Linked DNA regions of Homo sapiens: regions 1, 2, 3, 4, 6 and 7 are each linked to region 5. The links are contacts of gene promoters, found by promoter capture Hi-C in blood cells and fetal thymus (Javierre and others, 2016). All regions are on one chromosome and are shown on one strand. The core of a region is centred on a gene start or on the middle of the fragment in contact, and the rest is flanking DNA. Distances in the headings are between cores, read along the strand shown. Region 1 holds the start of KDSR (3-ketodihydrosphingosine reductase). Region 2 has its middle 240 kb from the start of BCL2. Region 3 has its middle 21 kb from the start of VPS4B. Region 4 overlaps BCL2 (BCL2 apoptosis regulator). Region 5 holds the start of ZCCHC2 (zinc finger CCHC-type containing 2). Region 6 overlaps KDSR (3-ketodihydrosphingosine reductase). Region 7 holds the start of BCL2 (BCL2 apoptosis regulator).

Region 1 (3,329 bases), core at 543-3,042, 840 kb after region 5:
TATGACATTAAAAAAGAAGACAGATGGTGACACCATGTGAACTATTCATGTCATTCTCACATTACTTAGAGTGTGAAATAATAATCCTGCGTATTAAAGCGGGATGGTAAAAATAAATTCTTCTTGGTCCACCTGAACAGACACAGCATTTATTATCTCACCTATGACCTGCCGCGGGATGGGGCTGGAAGGACTGGAGTCAAGGCTCAGTGAAACTGTCTTACAAATAAGGAATTCCAATTTTCATTCTGCGTTTAGCTTTAGTTTTTGCAAAGTTATGCTCTATAAACTCAAGCTCTGAAAGGATCCAAGGTTTAAAGCCACGCTTTTGAGGCAGCAGTTCTCTTGCGGATGTAAAACTTTCAGAATTTAGAGTGTCAAGTTTTGCCTTTCTCTTATTTATTTTTTGTAATGAATCCACACTCTTTCCCCATTAGGAACAGGAGGTGTTGGAAAAAGCTAATAGCTTTACAAAGGAGAAATTAAACAGATACATTTTCTCATTCACAAACCCTTGTACAGATTTAAAGCATACTAAGAAAAACGACCATCTTATTTTATACCAGCTCAGCGGGGAGGCTCGGATCTCCGGTGCAGAGATAGGACAGGAAGAGGTGTGCGGCCAATTTTGTAACCAACCCTCCTTACTCCTAACTCCTCGCCTCACTGTGCCTCGGGTTTGGGAGATCCAAACGAGAATGCTCGTGAGAAAGCCACTGCAAACGGGAAAGTGCTGGGCGCAGGCAAGGAGGCATTCTCTCTGTTTAAGAAAGGTGCCACATTTGCAGAACAGGGATCGCTGAATATGCGAGCTTCCGCCAAGAAATAAATCACACCTATCCACCTCTCCTTCATTCCTCGCACACAAGCCTTGTCGTTTAGCTCATCCTTCCCACTAGAAAACAGCAAAGGATTGCATTGGAGCAGCAATCAGCAGATGCCACGCTGAGCTCAGAGACAAGCAGTGTAGACGGGACAGGCGTCCCAATACCGCTAAGCCACCACCGCCAGCCCGCTGGGTTCTGAGCAGTTTCCCCAGGTGAGTCACTTCCTGGAATCCTCTGGCAGCGGCTCTTCCCGTCACTCGCACAGGCCATCTTCCAGTTCCGAGCTGCCTCGGCGGGTCCCGGCGGCTGGGACCCCACTTCCCCGCTGTCTGCCCCCGCCCGGGGCCGCGCGCCGCACCCTGCACACCACCGACCGCTGTGTCCTTGGCAAAGTTTCTCAGCCTCTCTGTGCCTCAGTTGACTCATCGGAAAAACTGAGGACAAAACATCCACATCCCAGGGATGTTGCATGGATTCACGAGCAGCCACAGAACCCCTGGGGCCCCGGGAACCCTGCGGCCGGCGGGGTCCCCCGTCGCACGCTCTCCGGCCCTAGGAGGAGCCCGAGGCTGCGGAGGGCGGGTCCGCGAGGCCGGGTGCCGGGGCCGGGGGAAAAGCGCCGGGGTGGACGGCGGCAGGTGACCTTCCCCATTTGGCCATGCCTTCCTGGGGACCGCGGCCTGGAAAAAGGGACGTAGGCTACGCGGCCTCGGCGGCGGAAAGGCCGCGCGGGCCGGTAAGTCGGGGGGCAGCAACAGGAGGCCACTCACCACCACATGCGCCCCGGGCAGGGCGAGGGGCTTGGGGCTGATGAGCGGAGACACCATGTACAGCAGCAGCACGAAGGCCACGAGGAAGGCGGCAGCCAGCAGCAGCATCGCTCCGCGGGGCCAGGGGCCCGGAGCGGCCGGGCGGGGGCCGCCGGGCAAGGCGCGCAGGGCTGGGCTGCGGCGAGGCGAGAATCACGCGCGGCGGGCGGGCGCCTGGAGTGTTTGGGTTTGCGGGCCGGGGCGGGCCGCGGCGGAGGGGAAGAGGAGGAGCCGGCGCGCGCGCCACCCAGGCGGGGCGGTGCTTCCAGGGGGCGAGTAGGCCGCCACCGCCACCGCCACCGCCACCACTGCCAGAATCGCCTCTCGGGGGTCGCCGGGTGTCTCCCACTCCCCCGGCCTCGGGACGGGGCCCGCAGTCCGCAGCCTCTCCCGTGGAAACCGGGCCTCCCGTCCCTGTGCGTCGCGAGCGGGCTCCGGACAGCGCCAGATGCGAGCGCGCCGGGAAGGGCTGCGAAGACTCGCTCTTCGGGAGCTCGAATGGCTTCTTAGGACCCCGCAGGGCGGGTTTCCAGGCCTGCCACGGCCTCCAGTGTGGGCGTGACGAGCGCTCCTCCCTGGAGTTCAGCCCTCGGCTTGGGACTGCCCGCTGGGTTGCTCGGAGGCCCCGGAGCATCGGAAAGGGCGGCTGGAGGCTCCCGGAGCGGGCTCAGCCTGGGAGCCCAGCGACTACGCTCTGAAATCCCGGGCTCCATTCCATATTTTTTGGCGTTTTTAGAAGATGGTCACGGCCCACTTTCGCTTTTCAGAGGACCGGAAAGCCTTAACAGGGAGTTTTGAGGAATCACTAAGGTAATTCAATTTCATTGAGTTCAGAGTTCATCTTTACCAAGCAGGTTCAAAACAAATAAATAACGCAAACAACTCAGCTTTATTAAGGTCTCATTCACGTACTATACCATACAATTCCCGATTTAACGTGCGTAATAGGCCGGGCGAGGTAGCTCGCGCCTGTAATCCCCGACCTTTGGGAGGCTGAGGCGGGCGGATCTCTTCAGGTCTGGAGTTCGAGACCAGCCTGGCCATGATGGTGAAACCCCCGTCTCTACTAAAAATACAAAAAATCACCCGGGCATGGTGGCGTATGCTTGTAATCCCAGCTACCCTGGAGGCTGAGGCAGGAGAATCGCTTGAACCCGGGAGGCAGAGATTGCGGTGAGATCGCGCCACTGCACTCCAGCCTGGGTGACAGATCAAGACTCCGTCTCAAAAATAAATAAATAAATAAAGCTTATAATAAATTGTCTTTAATATAGTCACAGTTGTAGACCCATCACTACCATAAATTTTAGAACATTTTTGTCACAACCCCCCAAAATCCTATACTCATTGGCAGTCACGACCCATTTCCTCCCAAGCCCCGCCCAAGCCTAAGCAATCCCTCATGTTTCTGTCTCTATAATCTTGCCTATTCGGGATATTTCACATAAATGGAATCATATAATATGTAGCCTTTTTCATCCTATCTTTCACTTACTGTAATGTTTTCAAGGTTCATCCATGATATGAAGTACTACATGTTAATACTTCATTTATTTTTATTGCCAAATAATATCCCATTGTATGACTATACGACATTTTAATTTTCCATTCATCAATTGAGGAATATTTAGGTTGTTTCCACTTTTTGACTATTAGAATTATGCTAACTGTAAATATTCATTTACCGGTTTTT
Region 2 (3,284 bases), core at 20-2,519, 550 kb after region 5:
TATATTAAGAGATGTCATGAGTCTATAAATGTAGCAATTGCACATGGCTGGCATAGAAATCTCAACTTCAATATGTGATGTTCAAAGTCCAATTTAAAGGGATTTTAATAATTAGCCATAACTAATAACTAAGGTAAGGTTTGTTGTATCTTGAATCTTAAATGGTTGCCATGTGTCTGTTTATTAAAAATAGAGTTTCCTTTTTTTCTTTCTTCATTCACCTTAAGTAAAAGTCTATTATAGCAAAAATGCAACAGTGGCATCCTGTGGCTTGGCCTGTGAATGACAGGTGCGTGTCACAGTTGTGATCTTGGAGGCTTGGTGTCATGGCTACACAGAGGTACAGGATCATTGTGAAGAACATGGCATGTTAGAAGGAAAAGCTCCATTACTTTATTTAAGACGTAAAATTATTATAAATGACTCATTATGATCTTTTATCTTTATTTCATGGGAGTAAATTGCATGCATAATTAAAAATTGAGTTGAGAATAAAGCCACAGAAATGTACTTGTTTTTTCAAAAGCTTATTTTTCCGGACTCTATGATGAAGTTTCCCTCTGTCATTTTTACACATAGAATATACCATTATTTCCTCTCATGTAATTCTTCTGTAAGTGTAGGAAATGGAGTGAAAGAATCCATATTAAACCATTAATAACTGTAAATACTTTATCTCTCCACCCCCCCAGAAATAAATACAACTAAATCTCGGAAGCCTTTTGATTGTGATGCTTGGCTGCTGAGCCCTCTACGCTGGAAAGGCAGCACTATCATATTTAGCAGTGCGTGCTTCCAGCTTCAAACTTTAAAAAATAGTTTAAAAACATCTTCAGGGGCCGGGCGCGGTGGCTCACACCTGTAATCCCAGCACTTTGGGAGGCCGAGGTGGGCGGATCACGAGGTCAGGAGATCGAGACCATCCTGGCTAACATGGTGAAACCCCGTCTCTACTAAAAATACAAAAAATTAGCCGGGCGTGGTGGCGGGCGCCTGTAGTCCCAGCTACTCGGGAGGCTGAGGCAGGAGAATGGCGTGAACCCGGGAGGCGGAGCTTGCAGTGAGCGGAGATCGCGCCACTGCATTCCAGCCTGGGCGACAGAGCGAGACTCCGTCTCAAAAAAAAAAAAAAAAAAAAAAAAAAAAAAAAAAACTTCATAAACAACATACAGTTATACTTTTTCTTATTTAAAATGTTTACATAAGTAGAATTATGATATTCACATTCCATGAAGTTTTGCACTGAAGATGTGGTTGAGGTCTCACGTACGCTTATCTTGTGTGAAGGAATGTATGGAATATGAATGCCATAATTTTACTTATGTAAATTGTAAAAATAAGAACAAATATATATAATAAAGACCTTTGGATTTCTGCTTCTGAGGACTTCCTGTTCTCCTTCCCTCCACTTTCCTATGGGCGTGCTTCTGTTCTTTATTTATCCGAGTTTTCTCCATTAAAGATAAATTCTCTGATAAGATAAATACAGTATATATCTTTATTAATTCCTTTGTTATAGATCCTGCAAATACCTTCTCGAGGCCTGTTTTTTCCTCTCTAACGTTGATGGGGTATGTTTTGTTATAAAGATGTTTTCTGTTCTGCAGGGTTGCGTGTCAGTTACAGTTGTCATTTGTAAGCAGTAGAATCCGGTCTGACCAGTTTAAGCAGAAAAGAACTTAGGAGAGACAGAAGGGAGTTCACACAACGTTTGGGACAGATGGGAAAAGAGGCCTGAGACAATGAAAGGGACACTCCCAGAACCAACTGACCCTTTCCGGAATCTGCTGCCCACCCCGGGACCACACCGCCTTTGCCCAGAATGCGCCACTGAAATGACAGCGGCTCCCGGAGACGCGCAGCCAGCCAGCTCCCTCCCGCGGCCCGAGGCCCCCGTGTCTGATTGGCAGGCCTGGTCACGTGCCCGCATTTTGGCTGGGAAAGAGTCAGGGAAGGCACCGATTCAGATTCTCCCTTGGGGAAACAACTAAAATGCACGCAAGGTGGCCTAAAAAGCTTGGCAGATTCACTTTGGGCCATAAAGATATTCTTCAAACTTAAAAATAAAAAAATAAAAATAAAAGAAACTAAACTAAAAAATATCTTCATGAACAACATACAGTTATGCTTTGTCTTATTTAAAAATTTTCCATACATAGAATTATGATATTCACATTCGATGAAATTTTGCATTCAAGATGTGGTTGAGGTCTCACGTCTCAGTAGTGTTTAGTTGCGATTTTTCGTGCTGAGGTCTTTAATTCTTCTGGAATTAATTTTTGTATAATTAGTGTAGGAGTCTTTTATATGAAAAGCCAATGCTTCCATCATCAATGATGGCACAAGCTCATCTTTCCCTGCTGATCTCTAGTGCCACCGCTATCATATTCCACATCCCACGTAGCCCCTACATGTGAATCCTGCATGAACATGGATTTGCACCAGGCTCTCTATTCTGTCCGCTGCCTCTTCCTCTGCTCAGACAACTATATTTTAATTTCTGTGACTGTCTAGAATGTTTCAGAATCCGCAGGCCAACTGCTCCTGCCCACCCATTGTTCTTATTTTTCGAAATTATCTTGGCAATGATAATTCACTTTTCCATATGAATTTTAGAATCACGTTACAAATGAACAGAAAAGTTCTGCTGAGATTTTATTTGGAATTTACTTAAATTTATAGATAATTTGGGCAGAATTGACATGTTTATGCTTTTGAGACCTCTTACCCATTATTCAGATCTTCTTTTATATCCTTTAATAAAACTATAATTTTTTCCCATAAAGCTCTTAAAAATGGTACGTAATGTATATTCTTTAGGTCCTTTATAGTTTTGCTGCTATTGTGAGCTGGCTTTTTTTTTTTCCAATTTTTTCCCATTTGTTATTGTTCACATTCAAAAGTTATTGAATTTTGCATGTTGATCTTGTAATCAGTAGCCTTGCTGAATCCTTTTTTAGTTCTAAAAGATTTTCTGTTGATATCTATGCATTTTCTTTGTTCTTTCTTTCTTATTTTATTTTATTTATTTATTTTTTTGAGACAGAGTTTTGCTCTTGTTGCTCAGGCTGGAGTGCAATGGTTCGATCTTGGCTCACTGCAACCTCTGCCTCCCAGTTCAAGTGATTCTCCTGCCTCAGCCTCCTGAGTAGCTGGGGTTACAGACACGTGCCACCACACCTGGCTAATTTTTTTGTATTTTTAGTAGAGATGGGGTTTCACCATGTTGGTCAGGCTGGTCTCAAACTCCCGACCTCAGGTGATCCACCTGCCTCGCCCTCTCA
Region 3 (3,742 bases), core at 458-2,957, 920 kb after region 5:
AAAGCAAAAAGTAAATCAAAATCAAGAACGTTTAAAATGAATAGTCTCATTGAACTATCCCAAGTGGAGCTGAATTTTCTCCTGAAATAAGATATAGAATGGTGAAGCTTTTAGATTGGGCCTTGAAGATCAGGAAAGACATCAACAGAAGAAGATAGGGCTTATTTTGCCAAAGGGTGGTCCCAGTAGTAATCCTTTGAGGCAGCGGAGTGGGGTGTGTTCCAAGGAAAGCCACCTGTTTATGTTAGTTATAAGTTAACTGTATTTGTAATAGAGATTAGGCCATAATATTGTTGCTGTTTAGATTTGATGCACTCTGGTCTTCCAGAGGAGCTTGTATATATCTGTGAAGTTTGTGAGTTGAATGTTCGTAAATAGAGAATCTGCTAGATTCTACTGCATACCAATTTTAGGACAGGCACCATTATTGATCCTGGAGATAGAAGCAATAAAAAAAGACATGGATCTTACAGTTCAGTAGGTGAGATAATCACAGATAATGAAATAGGTAATCATGTACAATAAATGCTATGATGAGAAGCTTCTGTGAGAGTGTTTAAAGGAAGAAGGAGGAGGAGGGGTGGTTAGGGAACGCTTCCCTTGAGGGAGGACTGGCCAAAACTCACCTTTCATTAGAGAAGATTGTAAGGGGATGTGGTGCCAGTGGGCCAAAGTCAAATTCCAAGTATTAAAGTGTATGGAGATGGGACAGGTATACAAAGAAATGTCTGAAAATACAGGTTAAATCATGCATGTAATGTTATACATTTTCAAAAATCAGATATACAAAAATGTAACTTTTTTGATAACTGAATTTAGTTCTCATAAAGGGAAAAATAGTCTGGCTACTTTTAAGTATATCCAGCTACATTCAGTAATTTGGGGGCATTACTGATTTAAAGCTTTGTCACAATTGGAACAAGCTCAACCATATTCAGGATGATCACTTCAGGCACTATTCCTCTCCCTGGGATAGATATTAGGATGTGAGCTTTGCATCTGAGGCACAATAGACCCCTGGCAGGGGGTGGCCATGGGTATGTCCAGATGCCCTCCCAAGCCTAGACACACTCTTTTTTCTTTTCTTTTCTTTTTCTTTCTTTCTTTTTTTTTTGAGACAGAGTCTCACTGTTACCCAGGCTGGGTATAATGGTGTGATCTCGCCTGACTGCAACCTCCACCTCCTGGATTCAAGTGATTCTCCTGCCTCAGCCTCCTGAGTAGCTGGAATTACAGGCACGTGCTACCATGCCTGGCTAATTTTTGTATTTTTAGTAGAGACGGGGTTTCACCATGTTGGCCAGGCTGGTCTTGAACTCCTGACCTCAGGTGATCCACCTGCCTTGGCCTCCCAAAGTGCTGGGATTACAAACATGAGCCACGGTGCTCGGCCTAGACACACTCTTGTACTGCCATTACCCCTCCAGGGTTGTCATGACCTGTAACCCCAGGGGGGACTTTTTGGTAGAGACTTGCTGTCTCCCTGGGCCTCCTCCAGCATTTGAGGCTCAGGCCCTTCTTGTTCTTGGATTTTGAAAGTGAAAAGGGAGCTTTATTGTGTGTTGCTACTTCTCCTTCCACCCCCAACTCGACTTACCAAATGAAGGGCAAATTTTGTGGCCCCTACACTGACTCTTACCCTCTTACTTTCTTTCCAAGGCTTCTTCCTCTGTCATCCAAATCAGAGGGTCTTTTGTTTTATTGGAGTGGGAGTGGGGCCTAGGAGAACTGGGTCTTCTCTGTTATGCCTTCTTTAAAATACTTTCTGCTTTACTCCTTTCAACACCTTTGCTTGCTAATCGTGGCCATGCCTGGGCTCGTGGGAGAGCCTGAGAGTGTAAGGGAAAGAGGCATTATTGGGTTATTGGGTGTACCTGCCTGGAGGTGGCTGCCACACCCAATAACGCATACTCCAAAACACAGACACCCCTCTCTGTTCACAGGAGAACAGGGCTTCTAAAACGGCCCATAGTGGTAGGGTGGTGAACAGAGGTGATGTGTGCCTCAGGGAGAACTAATCAGGGCAGAGAAGCAAGCGGGAAAGAAATAGTAAAGTCAGGGTGAGAGGTTTGCACCTGGAGGGCAGCGATGGTAGTTACCTAAAATGAGCAATGAGTCAAGGGCGTGTCATGGTACAGGCGGGGGAATCCTGAGTGTGCAGAACTTTACCTTATGTTCTATGAGCCATTTGAAGCATAGTTCTTTTTTTTTTTCTTTTTGTCCCTTTGAGATGGAGTCTTGCTCTGTCGCCCAGGCTGGAGTGCAGTGGTGCGATCTCAGCTCACTGCAAACTCTGCCTCCTGGGTTCAAGAAATTCTCCTGCCTCAGCCTCCCGAGTAGCTGGGATTACAGGCGCCTGCCACCATGCCCAACTGATTTTTGTATTTTTAGTAGAGATGGGGTTTCACCATGTTGGCTAGGCTGATCTCGAACTCCTGACCTCAAGTTATCCACCTGCCTCGGCTGAGATTATAGGTGTGAGCCACCTCATTCAGCCTGAAACATAGTTCTAAAAAGCTTATTTTTCATTCCTTTTTTTTCCTGTTTATTCAATTTAACAAGTGTTGTGGTTGGAAATATAGATTGCTTATTTCTTGAGTACTTACTTTTAAACCTGAGTGAATGCCTAGACATTTGAAAACTCAATAAATTAAAAGCACGTGGTAGCTTATAGAAATATTACAACACACACACACACCCAGTATGTCTGAGTGAGTCAAACGGAGTGTCTTTGCAAAATGTGCTGTCTGAATGAGACAGCGATTATGTCACTCATTGGCAATAAACACTTGTGGAGCCATCACTGAGGCTGACAGGAAGTTAAAAAAAGAGTCTCTGGGGAAACAGCTTGTTCTGCTTCTGATTCCATGAGATGTAACTATGTCTCTCGAAATGCGTACATATATATTTTATTACTTATTACCACATAAAACTTCATCCCTAAGGTAGGGTGCCCATCGTGATGATGGATTTGAGTACTAGCATTCATTCTTCAAAGGCACAGTTCAGCAACCCCATTCCTGGGGTGAATATGCGCCTGAAATGGGAGCTATTTTCTTTAATGGCCAAAACCCCCCACAGAACAACCAAAAACCACACCCAAAAATTCTTCCCCATTCTTCCTCAAAGTGTGAATTCATTCTCTTGAGCCAAGATTCACAGAAGACAAGGTGCTGGGCATCATGTAGCAGAAAAGCCCTCATTCCTAGAAGCTGGAACCCATGATCCTCTTGTTGGGGCCTGTTAGGGTGATTCTCTGTTGGAACAAACCCCACTCGGAGCTGGGCCCAGTCCCTGGGCAGAGAGCCTGCCCAGTCACATTTGTATCCTAAAGCCAAATATCTTGTCTTATGAGGAAATTAACCAGTTCTCCTAGACGTTTTATGGGAGCAGCAGAGAGGGTGGGTTTGACTGAGGAGAGAGAGAAAGAAAGGCCCAGAGAGAGGAGCCAAGCCTCATTGGCTTAGAGTTATTGGGAAAAACGTGAGTTTACATAAAGGAAAATTCTAAATTATGGAGTATCTCAAAAGAAATATAATTTAATATTTGAAAGTATGTAATAAACACAAATACCTATGGTTATTAGTCAACTAAATGAAAAGGTATAATTTTTCTTTTTTCTTTCTTTTTTTTTTTTTTCTTTTTTCTTTCTTTCTTTTTTTTGAGACAGAATCTCCCTCTGTGGCCCAGGCTGGAGTGCAGTGGCATGATCTCGGCTCACTGCAATCTTTGCCTCCCGGGT
Region 4 (3,530 bases), core at 984-3,483, 640 kb after region 5:
TTCCATTCCCTTCCTCTCTAGTTTCAAGATGAGATGATGACAAAAAGACTGACTAGTGAGAAAAAGCATGAAACTCCATCTACAAACGTGCAAACCGACACAGAGCAAACCTGCAGGAATTTCCACACCCGGTCTTCTGATTTGCCTTGAAAAGGGGGAAAAAGAGAGAAAGGAAGCGTACCTTCGCCTCCACTAAGACATCAACATTAACTCTGTTTTCTTAATTTCACACGAACATCACTGCGTCTGGAGTCTATGTTTTATTTTTCCTGTTAGGCAAAAGCAATTTTTCCCAAGTAAAAGTTCTGAAACGGATTTCTTTTAGAAGCAGAGATAACTGGGAATTTTCTCAAAACTAGTACAAGTATGAATGTTTCTCCTTTTACTTTCCATTTTTACAAATGCATTTAGGGCCAAATGCACTGGCTAATTTTGATAGAATGTAACAGAGACAGGAGAAGCAGTCCATCTCAGTGAGTGAGTGGACATTTATTAGGCATTCACTTTTCACAGGCCTGGGATATTAGGTATTGCGGGGGTGTTGTATTCAGGAAATAGAAGTCAAAATCCAATTGAGTAGGGAAATGAGCCAAACAGAAATGGACACAAAGACACCAAAAACACCTACAAAAACACAGATGAATGTGCAGAATCAGCTGGAGTTTCTATGAGCTGAGCTGAATCTGCTCACCTTGCAAAGATTTCCCCGCACAGTGGGGACTGCCCACGCGTACGCATTTCTTAGTTTCTGCTGGCCAACTCGAATCGTTTTCAGCGGGGTCATTTACATCGTGTCCACTTTTTCTGGTTTCCAAACTCAACCCACTTTATTATCTTAAGAGTTTTCATTCTCAGTATCATTTACATACAACAAAATGAATATATCATGTGTACAGTTTTATGAATATTGACAAAGGCATACATCCCTTTAACTCACTCCCCTATCAAGATATGCAGCATTTCCATCCTCCCAGAAAGAGCCCTTGGAGCCACTTTGTTTTTAAATTATTTGCATCTGAATATTTTTGAGTGGAGATTATCAAAGCCAAATGTGTGGGAAGAAAGCCTAATCATTAATCATCTACTACAAATACAGGTAGTAAAGGTTTTGAAGATGGTGCGTGAGCCTGCACAGACAAGTCTGCGGGATTGGGTCCTGTTATGAAATGCCAAAGGGGCTTTTTAGCGACAGGCACGTGGGCCCCTCTCAGCCGCCCTGTCGGCACTCAGATACGCAACTAAGACCGAGTGGGTTTCTTTTCTGGTTTTGTTCTTTAGGCATCAGAGTTTACATGTTTAGAAAGAGGGAAGTTGAGGCTGAATAGTCACATCCACCATATTCTCATAGGGGCAAATGTTCTCTGATTAGGAGGGCTCAACCACAGTGCAGAGTCCCCTCTTCCAAAATTCTGTTTCAACACCGAGAGGAGTTCACATGACCAGGCAAATTAGAGATTTTCTTAGCATTTCCTGTTTCCCAGATTTCAGAGGAGCCCTTCAGGGAATGTCTGGCCCAGGGTAGCACATTCAGGATGAGGGAAAAATGGTTATTTTTAGGTCCCTCCAACCATCACATTCCTCCCTGTCTCCACTTGGGCACTCTGTTGTTCTAGTGACCTGTCAAAGGGATGGGGGCGGGGCTGCGAGAAAAAAGCCACATCGCTTCCTTTGGGGTGGGGGTAAGGGTACCCCTGCTCCAGGGGTCCTAAACTGCTCACTAGCCCTTCTGCTGGAGAGGGACCAGAGGTGGAAGACCTGCCAGAGTGAGTGCCAGGCAGCTCTAGACTTCTGGGTATTCATTTCTCATAAAAGGTTGCAGTATTTCCTGGACACCTGAATTCTATGTCTTCACGGCAAAAACAATTCAAAATGTCCCAAAACATTATGCAGGAAGGAGTTTTTAATTTTTTTTAAATCACTTTTCCAAAATGGTACCCTGAGGTGATCCTGTCTTCAATCTCCCAGCAATGAAAACAATGTGGTTGAAAAGTTGACAGCTTTCAACCCTTGAAAAGGTCACCTCCCTGCCTCACACCCTCTCGTAAGTATTAAGAGCATAACGGATATTTTGAGTCACATGTATTGTTCTTTGTTCATTTGCATTTGGTGAAATCCCCCCCTTGGACCAATTTAGTAAGCAGTGCCTTGGGCTTCCTTGGTGATTGTTCTCTTGTCTTCTGTATATTTTTTCCTGTGAAAAAAATTTAGACTCAGCCAGTGAAATGAAGTTGCAGCCTCTGTCACTGATGCTTTCTTTTTGCTCAGATGATCTTTCCATCTCGCTTGGGACAGAATTCCTTCTTCTTTGCAACGAATGAAGACCTTCGAGGCTCAGCTGAGGCCCTTGTACTCCAAGACTTTCTGAAAGCTCCCTCGCCCCTCCCCATCTGACCTTCTGTTGGACTGACATACTTCTCCATATTTCAGCCTCAGATGGCTTGGTGTTCACCACTAGACTGTGTTACTGAAAGTTAATCAAGGGTCCTAGGGCCATTTACAAAGTGGGACTGTAAGAGAAAGTCTAGCTAGATGGAAATGTATCCTAAATACCCCCAAGTCCCAGCACAGGGGTTCCCATCAACAAAAAGCCTCACCTCCAAATACATTGCTGAGGACGCAGGGCCCCGTCTTCCCACCTGACGCACTACACACCACGTCAGCTGTCACAGGAGGTCTGAGTGCTTTATGAAGCTGCCTGCTTTCTCTCTTACCTCCATGTGTAAGCCAACCACTCTGGCTTTCAGAAACATATTTCTTTCTCTATGAGTAATTTAAAAGTGACTCATCCTCAGCCTCACCAGCCGGTCCATGTGACCTGCAGTGCTGGTTGAGTGTTATCTATAGATGTGTAAACCAAAGCAGTTCTTAGAACACAGATTCCCCCTCCCACGTGCTGTTGATTTCCCTTTGCTACACAGGGAGGGAACGATGTCAGACATGAGCAGCCAGGGACTGCCCGCTCCGCACTCAAATCTGGAATGTGTCCATTAGAGGAAACAAAGGCCATCACCCAGTGACAGAAAAGAAGAGACAGGCAAAAGGCCTAATATATTTATTTTAGTATTAGCAGACCATCAAGAAGCTCTGAGAAAACTCCACAAAAATTGAAGACGATGATGACCCATATAAACAAAAAACTGCTCAAAGTTCTTTTTCTGAGCCAGTAGAAATTTAGACCTCATGAAACAGAGATGACACCCACACCCACCCCAACCAAAACCCCACCAACACGTCTTCATTGCTCAATCAGAAACACATTCCTGGGATCTGCTGTGGTTTGTCTTGGGAACTCACATATATGAACATGTTTTTATTTCTTCAACTTGCCTTTATTCCACCATCACCAAAGAATGGTGTCAGGCCCAGCTCGGGGACACTACTGGTGCAGGCAGGCACGCGGGTGACACAGCTGGCCAGCATTCTAGATCGTGTTTCTTACCTCTTTCTCACTTCCTATTTTCTATTAAACCAAATCTGAACTCATTTGCCTGCTTTGTGAAGACCTTCATAATCCAGCTACTGTCGCCTGA
Region 5 (3,308 bases), core at 75-2,574:
CTTTCATCCCCGAAACTGATTCAGGCTTCAGTTCACCCTTTTACTGAACTGTGAATGAGCCTCTTAGGACATAAACTTGTGAGGTGAACAGAGTTCAGCATATGCTCTCCCAACAGATGTTCCAGCACCACCGCAAAGAGTTACAATGTGATTCTTATCTTTCTGCATACTCCTACTACATAGCTGTAGTAGGACTTCTAAATTTAAAGTCTTAAGATTTTTTTTAACCCACCTTTTAATTAACCCTCAAAAGATCCAGCTGAGTTTTAAAAATTTGGACTATGTTGCTAAAAAAAAAAAAAAAAAAAAAAAAAAGTAACAGTGCGAGTGTAAACATCTTGGAAGCCTAAATCTGAAAAACGTAACAAAACTTTTTTTTTTTAAGTTTAAAGCCTGTCAAGTTGGTAGCTTATTAAATTCCTCCAGTCACATGAAATTCACAGCAGAACAAGGATTCAAAATGGGTTAGGCACCGAAATGTCATTTAGCAAATCAATGATTCCCAAAAGATAGAGGTTTAGGGGCGGGGAAGGGAGAGGCTTTTCCTAAACTATCCAGGAAATAATTTTCACAGAGCGTTACAGACTAGGAGCGTCCCCAGCAGCGCTCACCCTCGGCCGGCCGGGTCCCGCTGCGCACCTCCCGGCCGCGCGTCCCCACCTGCGCACGGTGCCTCCAGCCTGGGCGTGGGCGCGGCCCGGGATCGCGGCGCCGGGGCCGCAAACCGGGGCCGCAAACCAGCGCCGCCACCCGCGTCCGGACCCAGTCCCCTGTGAGCGACACCTGGCAAAGTTTCACAAGGTGGGAGACAGCCCACCGCCGGCTTTCAGGAAGTGCACTGGGCGGTGAGGACTCGAACGAGCTCGTCCCGGGGCTGGCGCACTCACTTCGGAGAAACCCCTGCTCCCGGGACGCGTTCACTCCGGCCGCGCAGGCAGCCCGGGCACCACTGGCGGAGGCGGGGCGGCAGCTGGCAAGCAGAGGAGAATCAGGAGTCCAAAGCCGGGCCAGGGCCCTCAGGAAAGGTGAGAGCGGCCGCGTCCCTCCGCTCACGTGGGCCTCGCACGCTCCTCACCGCTCCCGGGCTACCCTCACGCCGCCCCACGGCCCCAGCCCGCGTCCTCCTCCTGCCGAGCACCAGCCTTTAGGACCGCACGGAAGCCGCCGAGAGGGAGGCGGCCGGCCAGCAGTTGGGCGTGGCTTCCTGGAGAAAGGCGGCCCCCCAGGGGGCGGGGAGAGCGACGTCACCGTCGATTCGCGGTGCTGATTGGCGGAGGTGAGGTGCGCGGAGCCCGCAAGCTTCTCCGCCCGGCCCGGCTGCTCCACCTCCTCACCCAGCCGCTCCGTCCTCACCGGCTCGCGAGGGAACAGCTCAGGCACCGCCGCCCCGGCTCAGCGCGGACGGCGGAGAGAGGGAGGCGGAAGGAGGACACCCTCGCTCGCTTGCTCCCACCCGCACCCGGGCTCCCAGAACCGGCGAGGAGCCCAGGGGGAGGAGCCGTCGCGGGCACGCCCCGCCCCCAGCCCGGGAAGACGACGCCAGCGACCCCGCCGGCCGGCCACCGCCCCCCTCGCCGGCCGAGACCCGCCCCCGGCCCCGGCCCTCCCCCGGCGGCATGGAGGGGCCCCGCTCCTGACGGCCGCGCCGCCGCCTCGGCCCGTGCTCCACCTCGCGGCCCCTCCCGCCCGCCCCCGCTCGCATGTCTGCGCCGCCCTAGCCGAGGATGCTGAGGATGAAGCTGCCGCTGAAGCCAACGCACCCCGCGGAGCCGCCGCCCGAGGCGGAGGAGCCCGAGGCGGACGCGCGGCCGGGCGCGAAGGCGCCTTCGCGCCGCCGCCGCGACTGCCGCCCCCCGCCGCCGCCGCCGCCGCCCGCGGGCCCGTCGCGGGGCCCTCTGCCGCCGCCGCCGCCGCCCCGGGGACTCGGGCCGCCTGTTGCTGGTGGAGCGGCGGCGGGGGCGGGTATGCCGGGCGGCGGCGGGGGGCCCTCGGCGGCGCTGCGCGAGCAGGAGCGGGTATACGAGTGGTTCGGGCTGGTGCTGGGCTCGGCGCAGCGCCTGGAGTTCATGTGCGGGCTGCTGGACCTGTGCAACCCGCTGGAGCTGCGCTTCCTTGGCTCGTGCCTGGAGGACCTGGCGCGCAAGGACTACCACTACCTGCGCGACTCGGAGGCCAAGGCCAACGGCCTCTCGGACCCGGGGCCGCTGGCCGACTTCCGAGAGCCCGCGGTGCGCTCGCGCCTCATCGTCTACCTGGCGCTGCTGGGCTCGGAGAACCGGGAGGCCGCTGGCCGTCTGCACCGCCTGCTACCCCAGGTGGACTCGGTGCTCAAAAGCCTGCGCGCGGCCCGGGGCGAGGGCTCGCGGGGCGGCGCGGAGGACGAGCGCGGCGAGGACGGCGACGGCGAGCAGGACGCCGAGAAGGACGGCTCAGGCCCGGAAGGCGGCATTGTGGAGCCCCGGGTCGGCGGCGGGCTTGGCTCCAGGGCCCAGGAGGAACTGCTGCTGCTCTTCACCATGGCCTCGCTGCACCCGGCTTTCTCCTTCCACCAGCGGGTCACCCTGAGGGAACACTTGGAGAGGCTCCGCGCCGCGCTCCGCGGGGGCCCCGAGGACGCGGAGGTGGAGGTAGAGCCGTGCAAGTTTGCCGGCCCCAGGGCCCAGGTAAGGCGCACGGAGCCTCCCTGGACTCGCGGTGCGATCGCTGCCCCGGCGGCCTCCCCGGCCTCGCTCTCGGACGCCCCTTGCCCGAGCCCCAGCCCGGCGCAGGTGGCTCGGAATCCCCACCCGGCAGCTCCCAGCGCCAGAGGGCTGAGCTTCGTCTCGCTGGGCCGCTCCGTTCCACTCCCCCACCCCACCCCACACCCCGGCAGACACAGCCACCCGCCATCACAGAATGCTCTAGAAGTCCCTTCCGTGCCACGGTGTTGCCACGGAAGACGTGGAGCTCCCCGCCCGGGGCCCCTCTCGGAGGAAAAGTGTCGGGACGTTTTTGGCTCTGAGCATCTCAGCGCTCGGTGCGGGAGCCGCCGGGCGCTGGAGGAACCTGTGTGAGAGCCAGCCGCAGTGAGCCCCAGGCAGCGCCGTCCTTCCCCGCCTGCCTGGCCGGGGCTCCGCCTCCCGTCTCCGGGCTCTGCCGGGCCCTCGGCGGGGTGTCCTGAAGGTGCGCTCCCGGCGAGCTGCCCTTGTCTTTGGCACAGAGGGACTTTTTTTGCCCAGTGTGTGCCTGAGTTAAAAGGGGTCGTACGGGTCCTTGTGGCTTCTGCTCTGAGGGCTTGTGTTCCCAGCAGACATCTGACGTAGAGACCT
Region 6 (3,697 bases), core at 1-2,500, 810 kb after region 5:
AATCCTAGTAATGTGGACAGAAATCAGTCGGACACATCAGAAACAGTGGAGTGTGCTCGTTCACTTTAAGTGAGATAAAATGGTCACAAAGCATTGATCAGCACTCAGAAATGGACGCACGGCCTTGGCAGATGGCAGTTCTCAACAAGTGAGTCCACGGACCCCTGCGGGCCCCCAAGGACAAATGATTGTCCTAATAACACTAAGACATTCATTGTCTTTTCCACAGTGTGTTGTATGGAAAATACAGTTTTGCCTCTGCAAAACTGCAGAGACATGGGCAAGAACCACGGGGTTCTTGCCAAACTGTACTAGGAGTCATTGTCACCTCTACTACCACACGCACTCGCAGTAATAAATAATACACAAAGAAAATACAAGTTCTAAAATTCTTTTAAAAATCAAAGTGTCAGTTTTGCTTTAAAATCCTCTTGATAAAGCAGGAAAATTCATCATTTTGTTCAATGGCAACCCTCGAGGACATGTCTTCTTAATACTCTGTGTGACAAATGAGAATGCGCCCAACGCGCTTCCGCAGCACTGCATTCCAGGGCGGGACAACTGCCTGGAACAAAAGTCCTTGTGCAGCTCCTGAAGTCAAGGGCTAAACTGCCACTTCTTTCATGGAGCATCATTTGTATTGTTTATTTATTTATTTTCGACAGAATCTCACTCTGTGGCCCAGGCTGGAATGCAGTGGTGTGATCTCTGCTCACTGCAACCTCTGCCTCCCAGGTTCAAGTGATTCTCCTGCCTCAGACTCCCAAGTAGCTGGGATTACAGGCATGCACCACCACACCCGGGTAATTTTTGTATTTTTAGTAGAGATGGGGTTTCACCATGTTGGCCAGGCTGGTCTCAAACCCCTGAGCTCAAGCAATCCAGCCGCCTCGGCCTCCAAAAGTGCTGGGATTACAGGCATGAGCCACCGTGCCTGGCTGGAGAGCATAATTTTTATATGAAAGACCATTGACAGGAAATCTATAGTAATTCAGACTTAGGTATGTGGCAGATGTGCAGAAAGCGAAGCAAGCAAGTGTGTCACTTCAGGAAAAACAACTGGCCACGTGTCATCAATGTGAAATCTGAGCCTTCAAGAAAAAATTAAGATTTGGAAAAACTAGTATCCACCATCACGAGACTGTCAGCTGCATACTTTTATGATAAGATCAGCAGTAATACTGATGAAAGCGATTTTTCTGATCACTCAGTCAACCCATATTTTCCAAATGACTAATGCATAATGTTACGAAATCATGAATGGTTAAAAGATCCATTCAAAGTACAAGACGGACCAATGGAATTTAATGTAACAGAGAACAAAACATTCATTGATGTAGTTTCCAATTCTATACTGCAACTAACCTTTAAGAAACTACCATTTGTTGAGTTTGGGTTTGATATCAAAAAAGAATGTCCATAATTATCTGAAAAGCCTAGTAAAATAGTCTTCCCTTTCCCAACTCCGTATCTGTCTCAGGCCAGATTTTCTGTATATCCTTCCATCAAAACAACATTATTACAACAGATGGAATGCAGAAGCAGCTATTTGAATCCAGCTGTTAATGCAGACCTTAAAGCAACTGGTGAAAATGTGAACCAATGCCACCGTCCTCACTGAACTTTTGTTTTGAAAAGTAGTAAATTTTGTTTAAAAAAAGTCACTTTATATATATGTGACTTTATATATATATATATGTGACTTTATATATATATATATGTGAATATATATATATATATATATATATGGAGTTTTGCTCTTGTTGCCCAGGCTGGAGCACAATGGCTCAATCTCAGCTCACTGCAGTCTCCACCTCCTGGGTTCAAGCGATTCTCCTGTCTCAGCCTCCCAAGTAGCTGGGATTACAGGCGCATGTCACCACACCCGACTAATTTTTGTATTTTTAGTAGAGACGGGGTTTCATCATATTGGTCAGGCTGGTATTGAACTCCTGACTTCAGGTGATCCGCCCGCCTTGGCCTCCCAAAGTGTTGGGATTACAGGCACGAGTCACTGTGCCCAGCCATTTTTGTTATTTTTAATGAATCAATAAATATTACAAACAGCTTCCATTTCAAATATGGCAAATATCAATAAATATAGCCATGTAAATAAACAAAAGTTCTCTGGGGTTGTTGACAATTTGTAAGAATGTAAAGTGGTCAAGAGAAGAAAAGTTTGAAAACCACTAAACTAAATGAATACTGCCAAAATACTAAGAGCTATTTAGCATCATTAGAAACACTGAATGGGCTGGGCACGGAGCTCACGCCTGTAATCCCAGCACTTTGGCCAAGAGGCTGAGGCGTGCGGATTACCCGAAATCAGGAGTTCGAGACCAGCCTGGCCAACATGGTGAAGCCCCATTTCTACTACAAATACAAAAAATTAGCCAGGTGTGGTTGTGAGCACCTGTAATCCCAGCTACTCAGAAGGCCGAGGCAGGAGAATCACTTAAACCCAGGAGGCAGAGGTTGCAGTGAGCCAAGATCGTGCCACTGCACTCCAGCCTGGGCAACAAGAGCAAAACTCCGTCTCAAAACAAACAAACAAACAAAACAACAACAACAACAAAAAACACCAAATGCATTTGCTTTGACCCGAGATAAGCAGGAAAAATAAAGTCTCACTTGTGCCATCTTCCTGAGCCTTTTAATGCACTCAGGACAAAGTTCTTCACACATGTATATATTTCAACAGAATTCACTATTCTCATTCTGCTCAGTTCAGTCTAATGTGACAGCATTTAGGCCACTTCAAGGCTGTCCACCATGTGCTGACACCTCTCATTCCAATGGTCCTATAGATTTTCCAAATTCAGTGTGGGTCTGTGGTTTACAGACATCCCTCATAAATGTGCATTTTTCCGCATTAACAGAAATGTTGTCAAAAAGCATGAGGCACATATGTTGTTCTTCTACAAAACAGCACATCATTTCTTAAAATACCATTTTTGATTCTGAATTAAAAAACATATCAACAGGGAAGACAGGAGGACAGGCCCACGGGGCTGGTGGCACTTTCTCGTTAGCTAACTTTTGGGAAAATGATACTGGGAAGCAGGAATGGGAGAGAAAGCAGCCAGGTGTATATGGGACATAGTATATATCGTTTACACTCATAGGAAAGTCTCATTTTCTTTTTAAAGAACCGGTGTTTCCAGACATCCTTCTAGTAAACCTGTTCCTCAGATTAAGGTATACAATCAGTTTTCAGGAGGCTACTCACTAATATGGAGTCAATAAAGCGTCTAAAAGAAGAAAAGTTGAGTCCAATATTAGATATGACAAATCTGACAGACTAAAAAATTCTAATAATTGATGTTTTGAAGTAAGTCCTTGGACAAATATCTTTTCAGAAATATAGTACTACAAACACAAATAGTACAGAAAACAAGGATTTTACTTACTATGGCATCTTTAACAATTTGTTTGGCCACCTGTTCTGGTTTGCACACAGATGTGGTCTCTGAAATAAGTCGAGTCTCCAAAGGCTAAAAGTGGAAAAACATGTACATAACAATATCATGATTGCCCATTACATTAAAAATAAATTATTCTTACAGCCTCCTGATTTACAAATAATTCCAATTTTCTACCTTTGGGCAGATTCCTATTTCTAGAATAAGGTCCATCTGGATTCTAAATCAGTGTCTACCTAGTTACTACGTAAAATTCTACCCAGTAGCTAACACAA
Region 7 (3,359 bases), core at 77-2,576, 800 kb after region 5:
GGGGTCTGCAGCGGCGAGGTCCTGGCGACCGGGTCCCGGGATGCGGCTGGATGGGGCGTGTGCCCGGGCTGGGAGGAGAAGATGCCCGGTGCGGGGGCGGCCCCCGGGGGCGCGGCGCCCACATCTCCCGCATCCCACTCGTAGCCCCTCTGCGACAGCTTATAATGGATGTACTTCATCACTATCTCCCGGTTATCGTACCCTGTTCTCCCAGCGTGCGCCATCCTTCCCAGAGGAAAAGCAACGGGGGCCAACGGCACCTCTCGCCCCAGCTCCCACCCCACGGCCCCCAGAGAAAGAAGAGGAGTTATAATCCAGCTATTTTATTGGATGTGCTTTGCATTCTTGGACGAGGGGGTGTCTTCAATCACGCGGAACACTTGATTCTGGTGTTTCCCCCTTGGCATGAGATGCAGGAAATTTTTATTCCAATTCCTTTCGGATCTTTATTTCATGAGGCACGTTATTATTAGTAAGTATTGTTAATATCAGTCTACTTCCTCTGTGATGCTGAAAGGTTAAAGAAAAAACAAACTAATAAGTAAAAAATCAGGTGCGTTTCCCTGTACACACTGAGTGAAAGCAGGGCATACACACTACAAGTAACACGGCTAAAAAGAATGTATTAAGCTGCCTGGAAATTAAATTTACTCGAATGCACTTTAAGTAAAAAATCTCAAAGGTTTCCATTGAAAGTTACATTAAACCAATTTCCTGTGCAGAGAACTTACTTGTATTTTTTAAGTACAGCATGATCCTCTGTCAAGTTTCCTTTTTGTAAAACCAAAACAAATGCATAAGGCAACGATCCCATCAATCTTCAGCACTCTCCAGTTATAGCTGATTTGAAACTTCCCAATGAATCAGGAGTCGCGGGGAGAGGGAGTAAAAATTAGGAGGATTTCCAGATCGATTCCCAGACTTCTGCTTCACAGAAATGTCAATCCGCAGGAATCCCAACCGGAGATCTCAAGAGCTCGAGAAAAAAAAAAGGCAGCGGCGGCGGCAGATGAATTACAATTTTCAGTCCGGTATTCGCAGAAGTCCTGTGATGTTTTCCCCTTCTCGGCAATTTACACGCGCGCACACACGCGCGGGCACAGGCATGAATCTCTATCCACGGGACCGCTTCACGCCTCCCCAGGAGAGAGACAGGGGAGAGGGGACGATGAAGGAGCCGGGGACGGAGGCAGGAATCCTCTTCTGATTAAACTCCGAACAGCAAATGCATTTTCCGAAAAGCTGCTGGATAAATGAAGGCAGGACGCGCCTGGCCCGCCGGTGCCGAGCGCTAGAAGCCCGCGCTGTGTGTGGTGCGGCGAGGGGTGGGGAGAAGGAGGTGGTGGGGGAGGGTTTTATTTTTTCCCTCTTTTCCTAAAAAGGATGACTGCTACGAAGTTCTCCCCCCTGGACCCCCTCTTCCGCTGCACCCCACCGGCGCACCCCGCCTCCGGGCTGCGCACCCTTTCTCCTCCTCCTGGTCCTGCGCGGCGGCGCTGGCTACGGCCGCCTCCCGGAGCTCCCGCCGCGCAGCCCGCTCCGAGCGCTGACGGCCGCCGGCAGGGAGGGCCCGGAGCCCCGGCACCTTCGCTGGCAGCGGCGGCGGCGGCAGCGCGGCGGGGCCACGGAGAGCGGCGGGCGGGAGCGCGGCGGGCGGGCGGGCAGGCGGCGCGGAGGGGCGGGCGCGGGAGGAAGGGGGCGGGAGCGGGGCTGTGGTGCCTGTCCTCTTACTTCATTCTCTGCACAGCCCGACCGGTTTCCTGTGCGTAACGTCACACGGTTCATTCAAAAAAAGAAGAAAGAAAGAGCCCTCCTCTGAGCCACCCGACCGCCCCCTCCGCCCCGCTCCCTGGCCCGGGTTAAAGGCGCCGCGGCAGGCCCGGGAGTGGCGCGTCCCGCCGGGGGCACATGGCGCGCGGGGCCGCGGCCGGGGAGGGCGCGTCCGGGCCGGCCACCCGCCCGCTCCGCTGCGCCCGCGGGGCCCGGCCAGTGGGTGGCGCGGGCGGCACAGGCCTCCCGCGCGGCCGCGGCGCGGTGGGTGTGCGCGGGGCCTTCTGCTCAGGCCTGCGGCAGGCCGCGTGCGGACTTGGTGGTCGCTGGGGTCCGCGACGGGGTGGGGGCTCCCGGGGAACCGCACGCGGCCGGGCCGGGCGGACGACGGAGTGCGGAGGGGGGCGGCTGGCGGGAGGGTGCGCCATGAAAACAAGGGCTGGAAAAGCGCCGGGAACCGCCTGGACCCTTTCTGGCCGTGTGAGTGTGTGTGGAGTGTGTGTGTGTGTGTGTGTGTGTGTGTGTGTCTCGCCTGGACCTTTTCTAGCCGTGTATGTGGGAGTGTGTGTGTCGCCTGGACCCTTTCTAGCCGTGTATGAGAGTGTGTACACGCGCCTACACACACACACGTTGTGTTACCGGCGCTCGGCCGCCGGGGGAAGACCCAGGCCAATGCCGCCCCCCACCGCCCCCAGCAGTGGGACCTCAGCGCTGCCCTGCTGTGAAGACAGGTGACTCTGCACGTTTTAAGCAATGTCTAGGGACGCCCCGAGCGTGGTGTTTACTTTCAAGTAGCTTCCTAGGTGTCCGCGCACTACACACGCACGCGCATCCCCGCCCGTGTCCACCTGAACACCTAGTCCGTGGCCCAGGCCATGCAGAACTCAGCGCTCCAGGGAAGGGGTTTATCAAGGGCTTTACGACAGTTTAAGTCAATGTTTTCCCTCTGTCCCTAACACCTTTTACACTGGTTTAGTGCTACACGATGAGGACTTCCATATAGTAACTTTCAGGCCCACCGTCCTAACGCTGGGGTGGGTGGGCTCCTAAAGGTCTCCACCTTTGCCTCGTAGCCAATCCTAGTTGGCCGCACTTTCTCAAATGAGGTACATAGATACACACATACACATTCACACTCGCAGACGTGTGTACGCGCAAGCAGACAGTTTTAAATTAATCAGCATGAATAGCCCCTAGCAAAAAAGGACAAGAGGACAAACAAGTTGCACGTGTGTATTTTTATCTCCAAGAGTCTTTGACAAAGCACCAAGAAAAGAAAAAGGTCTTCTAGAAGCACAGCGGCTTACTTAATAGGGCTCGAGTGCAAATATATAGGGACACTGGATTATTGGGGTCAAGAAAGATGACAAATGAGTACTACAATGTGTACAAATATGCTATGACTTTTTTTTTTTTTTTGAGACAGAGTCTTGCTCTGTTGTATCTTGGAGGCTGGTGTGCAGTGGTGCGATCTCAGCTCACTGCAACCTCTGCCTCCCAGGCTCAAGCAATTCTGCCTCAGCCTCCTGAGTAGCTGGGATTACACGTGCACGCCACTACGCTCTGCTAATTTTTGTATTTTTAGTAGA

Evidence for each region. The method cuts DNA at HindIII sites, captures the fragments that hold promoters and counts their contacts. A CHiCAGO score of 5 or more calls a contact.
Region 1: the fragment with the promoter of KDSR here is called in contact with the fragment with the promoter of ZCCHC2 in region 5 in 4 of 17 cell types (total CD8 T cells, non-activated CD4 T cells, fetal thymus and 1 more); the score reaches 6.4 in total CD8 T cells.
Region 2: a contact is called between a fragment that was not itself captured here and the fragment with the promoter of ZCCHC2 in region 5, in 1 of 17 cell types (fetal thymus). The highest score is 7.4, in fetal thymus.
Region 3: a fragment that was not itself captured here is called in contact with the fragment with the promoter of ZCCHC2 in region 5 in 1 of 17 cell types (total B cells); the score reaches 8.1 in total B cells.
Region 4: a fragment that was not itself captured here is called in contact with the fragment with the promoter of ZCCHC2 in region 5 in 1 of 17 cell types (naive CD8 T cells); the score reaches 5.2 in naive CD8 T cells.
Region 6: a contact is called between a fragment that was not itself captured here and the fragment with the promoter of ZCCHC2 in region 5, in 2 of 17 cell types (naive CD8 T cells and fetal thymus). The highest score is 6.0, in naive CD8 T cells.
Region 7: a contact is called between the fragment with the promoter of BCL2 here and the fragment with the promoter of ZCCHC2 in region 5, in 7 of 17 cell types (fetal thymus, non-activated CD4 T cells, activated CD4 T cells and 4 more). The highest score is 10.5, in fetal thymus.

Annotation. Positions count from the first base shown.
Region 1 is chr18:63,365,414-63,368,742 of GRCh38, forward strand. KDSR (3-ketodihydrosphingosine reductase) reads right to left here and starts at 1,793. Exons shown (of 10, transcript NM_002035.4): 1 at 1,598-1,793. The coding sequence starts at 1,705. KDSR-DT (KDSR divergent transcript) reads left to right here and starts at 1,911. Exons shown (of 2, transcript NR_186602.1): 1 at 1,911-2,446. LOC124904317 (a long non-coding RNA gene) reads right to left here and starts at 1,587. Exons shown (of 2, transcript XR_007066400.1): 1 at 837-1,587. RefSeq lists enhancers at 883-1,177, 1,217-2,164 and silencers at 1,026-1,075, 1,426-1,485, 1,556-2,005, 2,116-2,165. The HindIII fragment of the contact is 10,630 bases long and covers 1-2,882 here.
Region 2 is chr18:63,073,406-63,076,689 of GRCh38, forward strand. No RefSeq gene overlaps it. Among named protein-coding and RNA genes, the nearest start is that of BCL2, 240 kb to the right of the region's middle. RefSeq lists an enhancer at 324-373. The HindIII fragment of the contact is 1,490 bases long and covers 525-2,014 here.
Region 3 is chr18:63,442,002-63,445,743 of GRCh38, forward strand. No RefSeq gene overlaps it. Among named protein-coding and RNA genes, the nearest start is that of VPS4B, 21 kb to the left of the region's middle. RefSeq lists a silencer at 2,740-2,849. The HindIII fragment of the contact is 1,615 bases long and covers 901-2,515 here.
Region 4 is chr18:63,159,135-63,162,664 of GRCh38, forward strand. The region is part of intron 2 of BCL2 (BCL2 apoptosis regulator); the gene reads right to left. Among named protein-coding and RNA genes, the nearest start is that of BCL2, 160 kb to the right of the region's middle. RefSeq lists enhancers at 1,697-1,816, 2,227-2,466, 2,557-2,846, 3,047-3,096. The HindIII fragment of the contact is 5,416 bases long and covers 1-3,530 here.
Region 5 is chr18:62,521,701-62,525,008 of GRCh38, forward strand. ZCCHC2 (zinc finger CCHC-type containing 2) reads left to right here and starts at 1,325. Exons shown (of 14, transcript NM_017742.6): 1 at 1,325-2,663. The coding sequence starts at 1,725. RefSeq lists silencers at 579-688, 919-1,188, 1,219-1,718, 2,609-2,848, 3,089-3,218 and an enhancer at 2,034-2,607. The HindIII fragment of the contact is 5,111 bases long and covers 1,298-3,308 here.
Region 6 is chr18:63,335,390-63,339,086 of GRCh38, forward strand. KDSR (3-ketodihydrosphingosine reductase) reads right to left here. Exons shown (of 10, transcript NM_002035.4): 8 at 3,411-3,494. Among named protein-coding and RNA genes, the nearest start is that of BCL2, 17 kb to the left of the region's middle. The HindIII fragment of the contact is 6,476 bases long and covers 1-3,697 here.
Region 7 is chr18:63,318,443-63,321,801 of GRCh38, forward strand. BCL2 (BCL2 apoptosis regulator) reads right to left here and starts at 1,327. Exons shown (of 3, transcript NM_000633.3): 1 at 732-1,327; 2 at 1-510. The coding sequence starts at 224. RefSeq lists silencers at 1-188, 1,544-1,733, 1,894-2,103, 2,134-2,203 and an enhancer at 3,095-3,184. The HindIII fragment of the contact is 7,545 bases long and covers 1-3,359 here.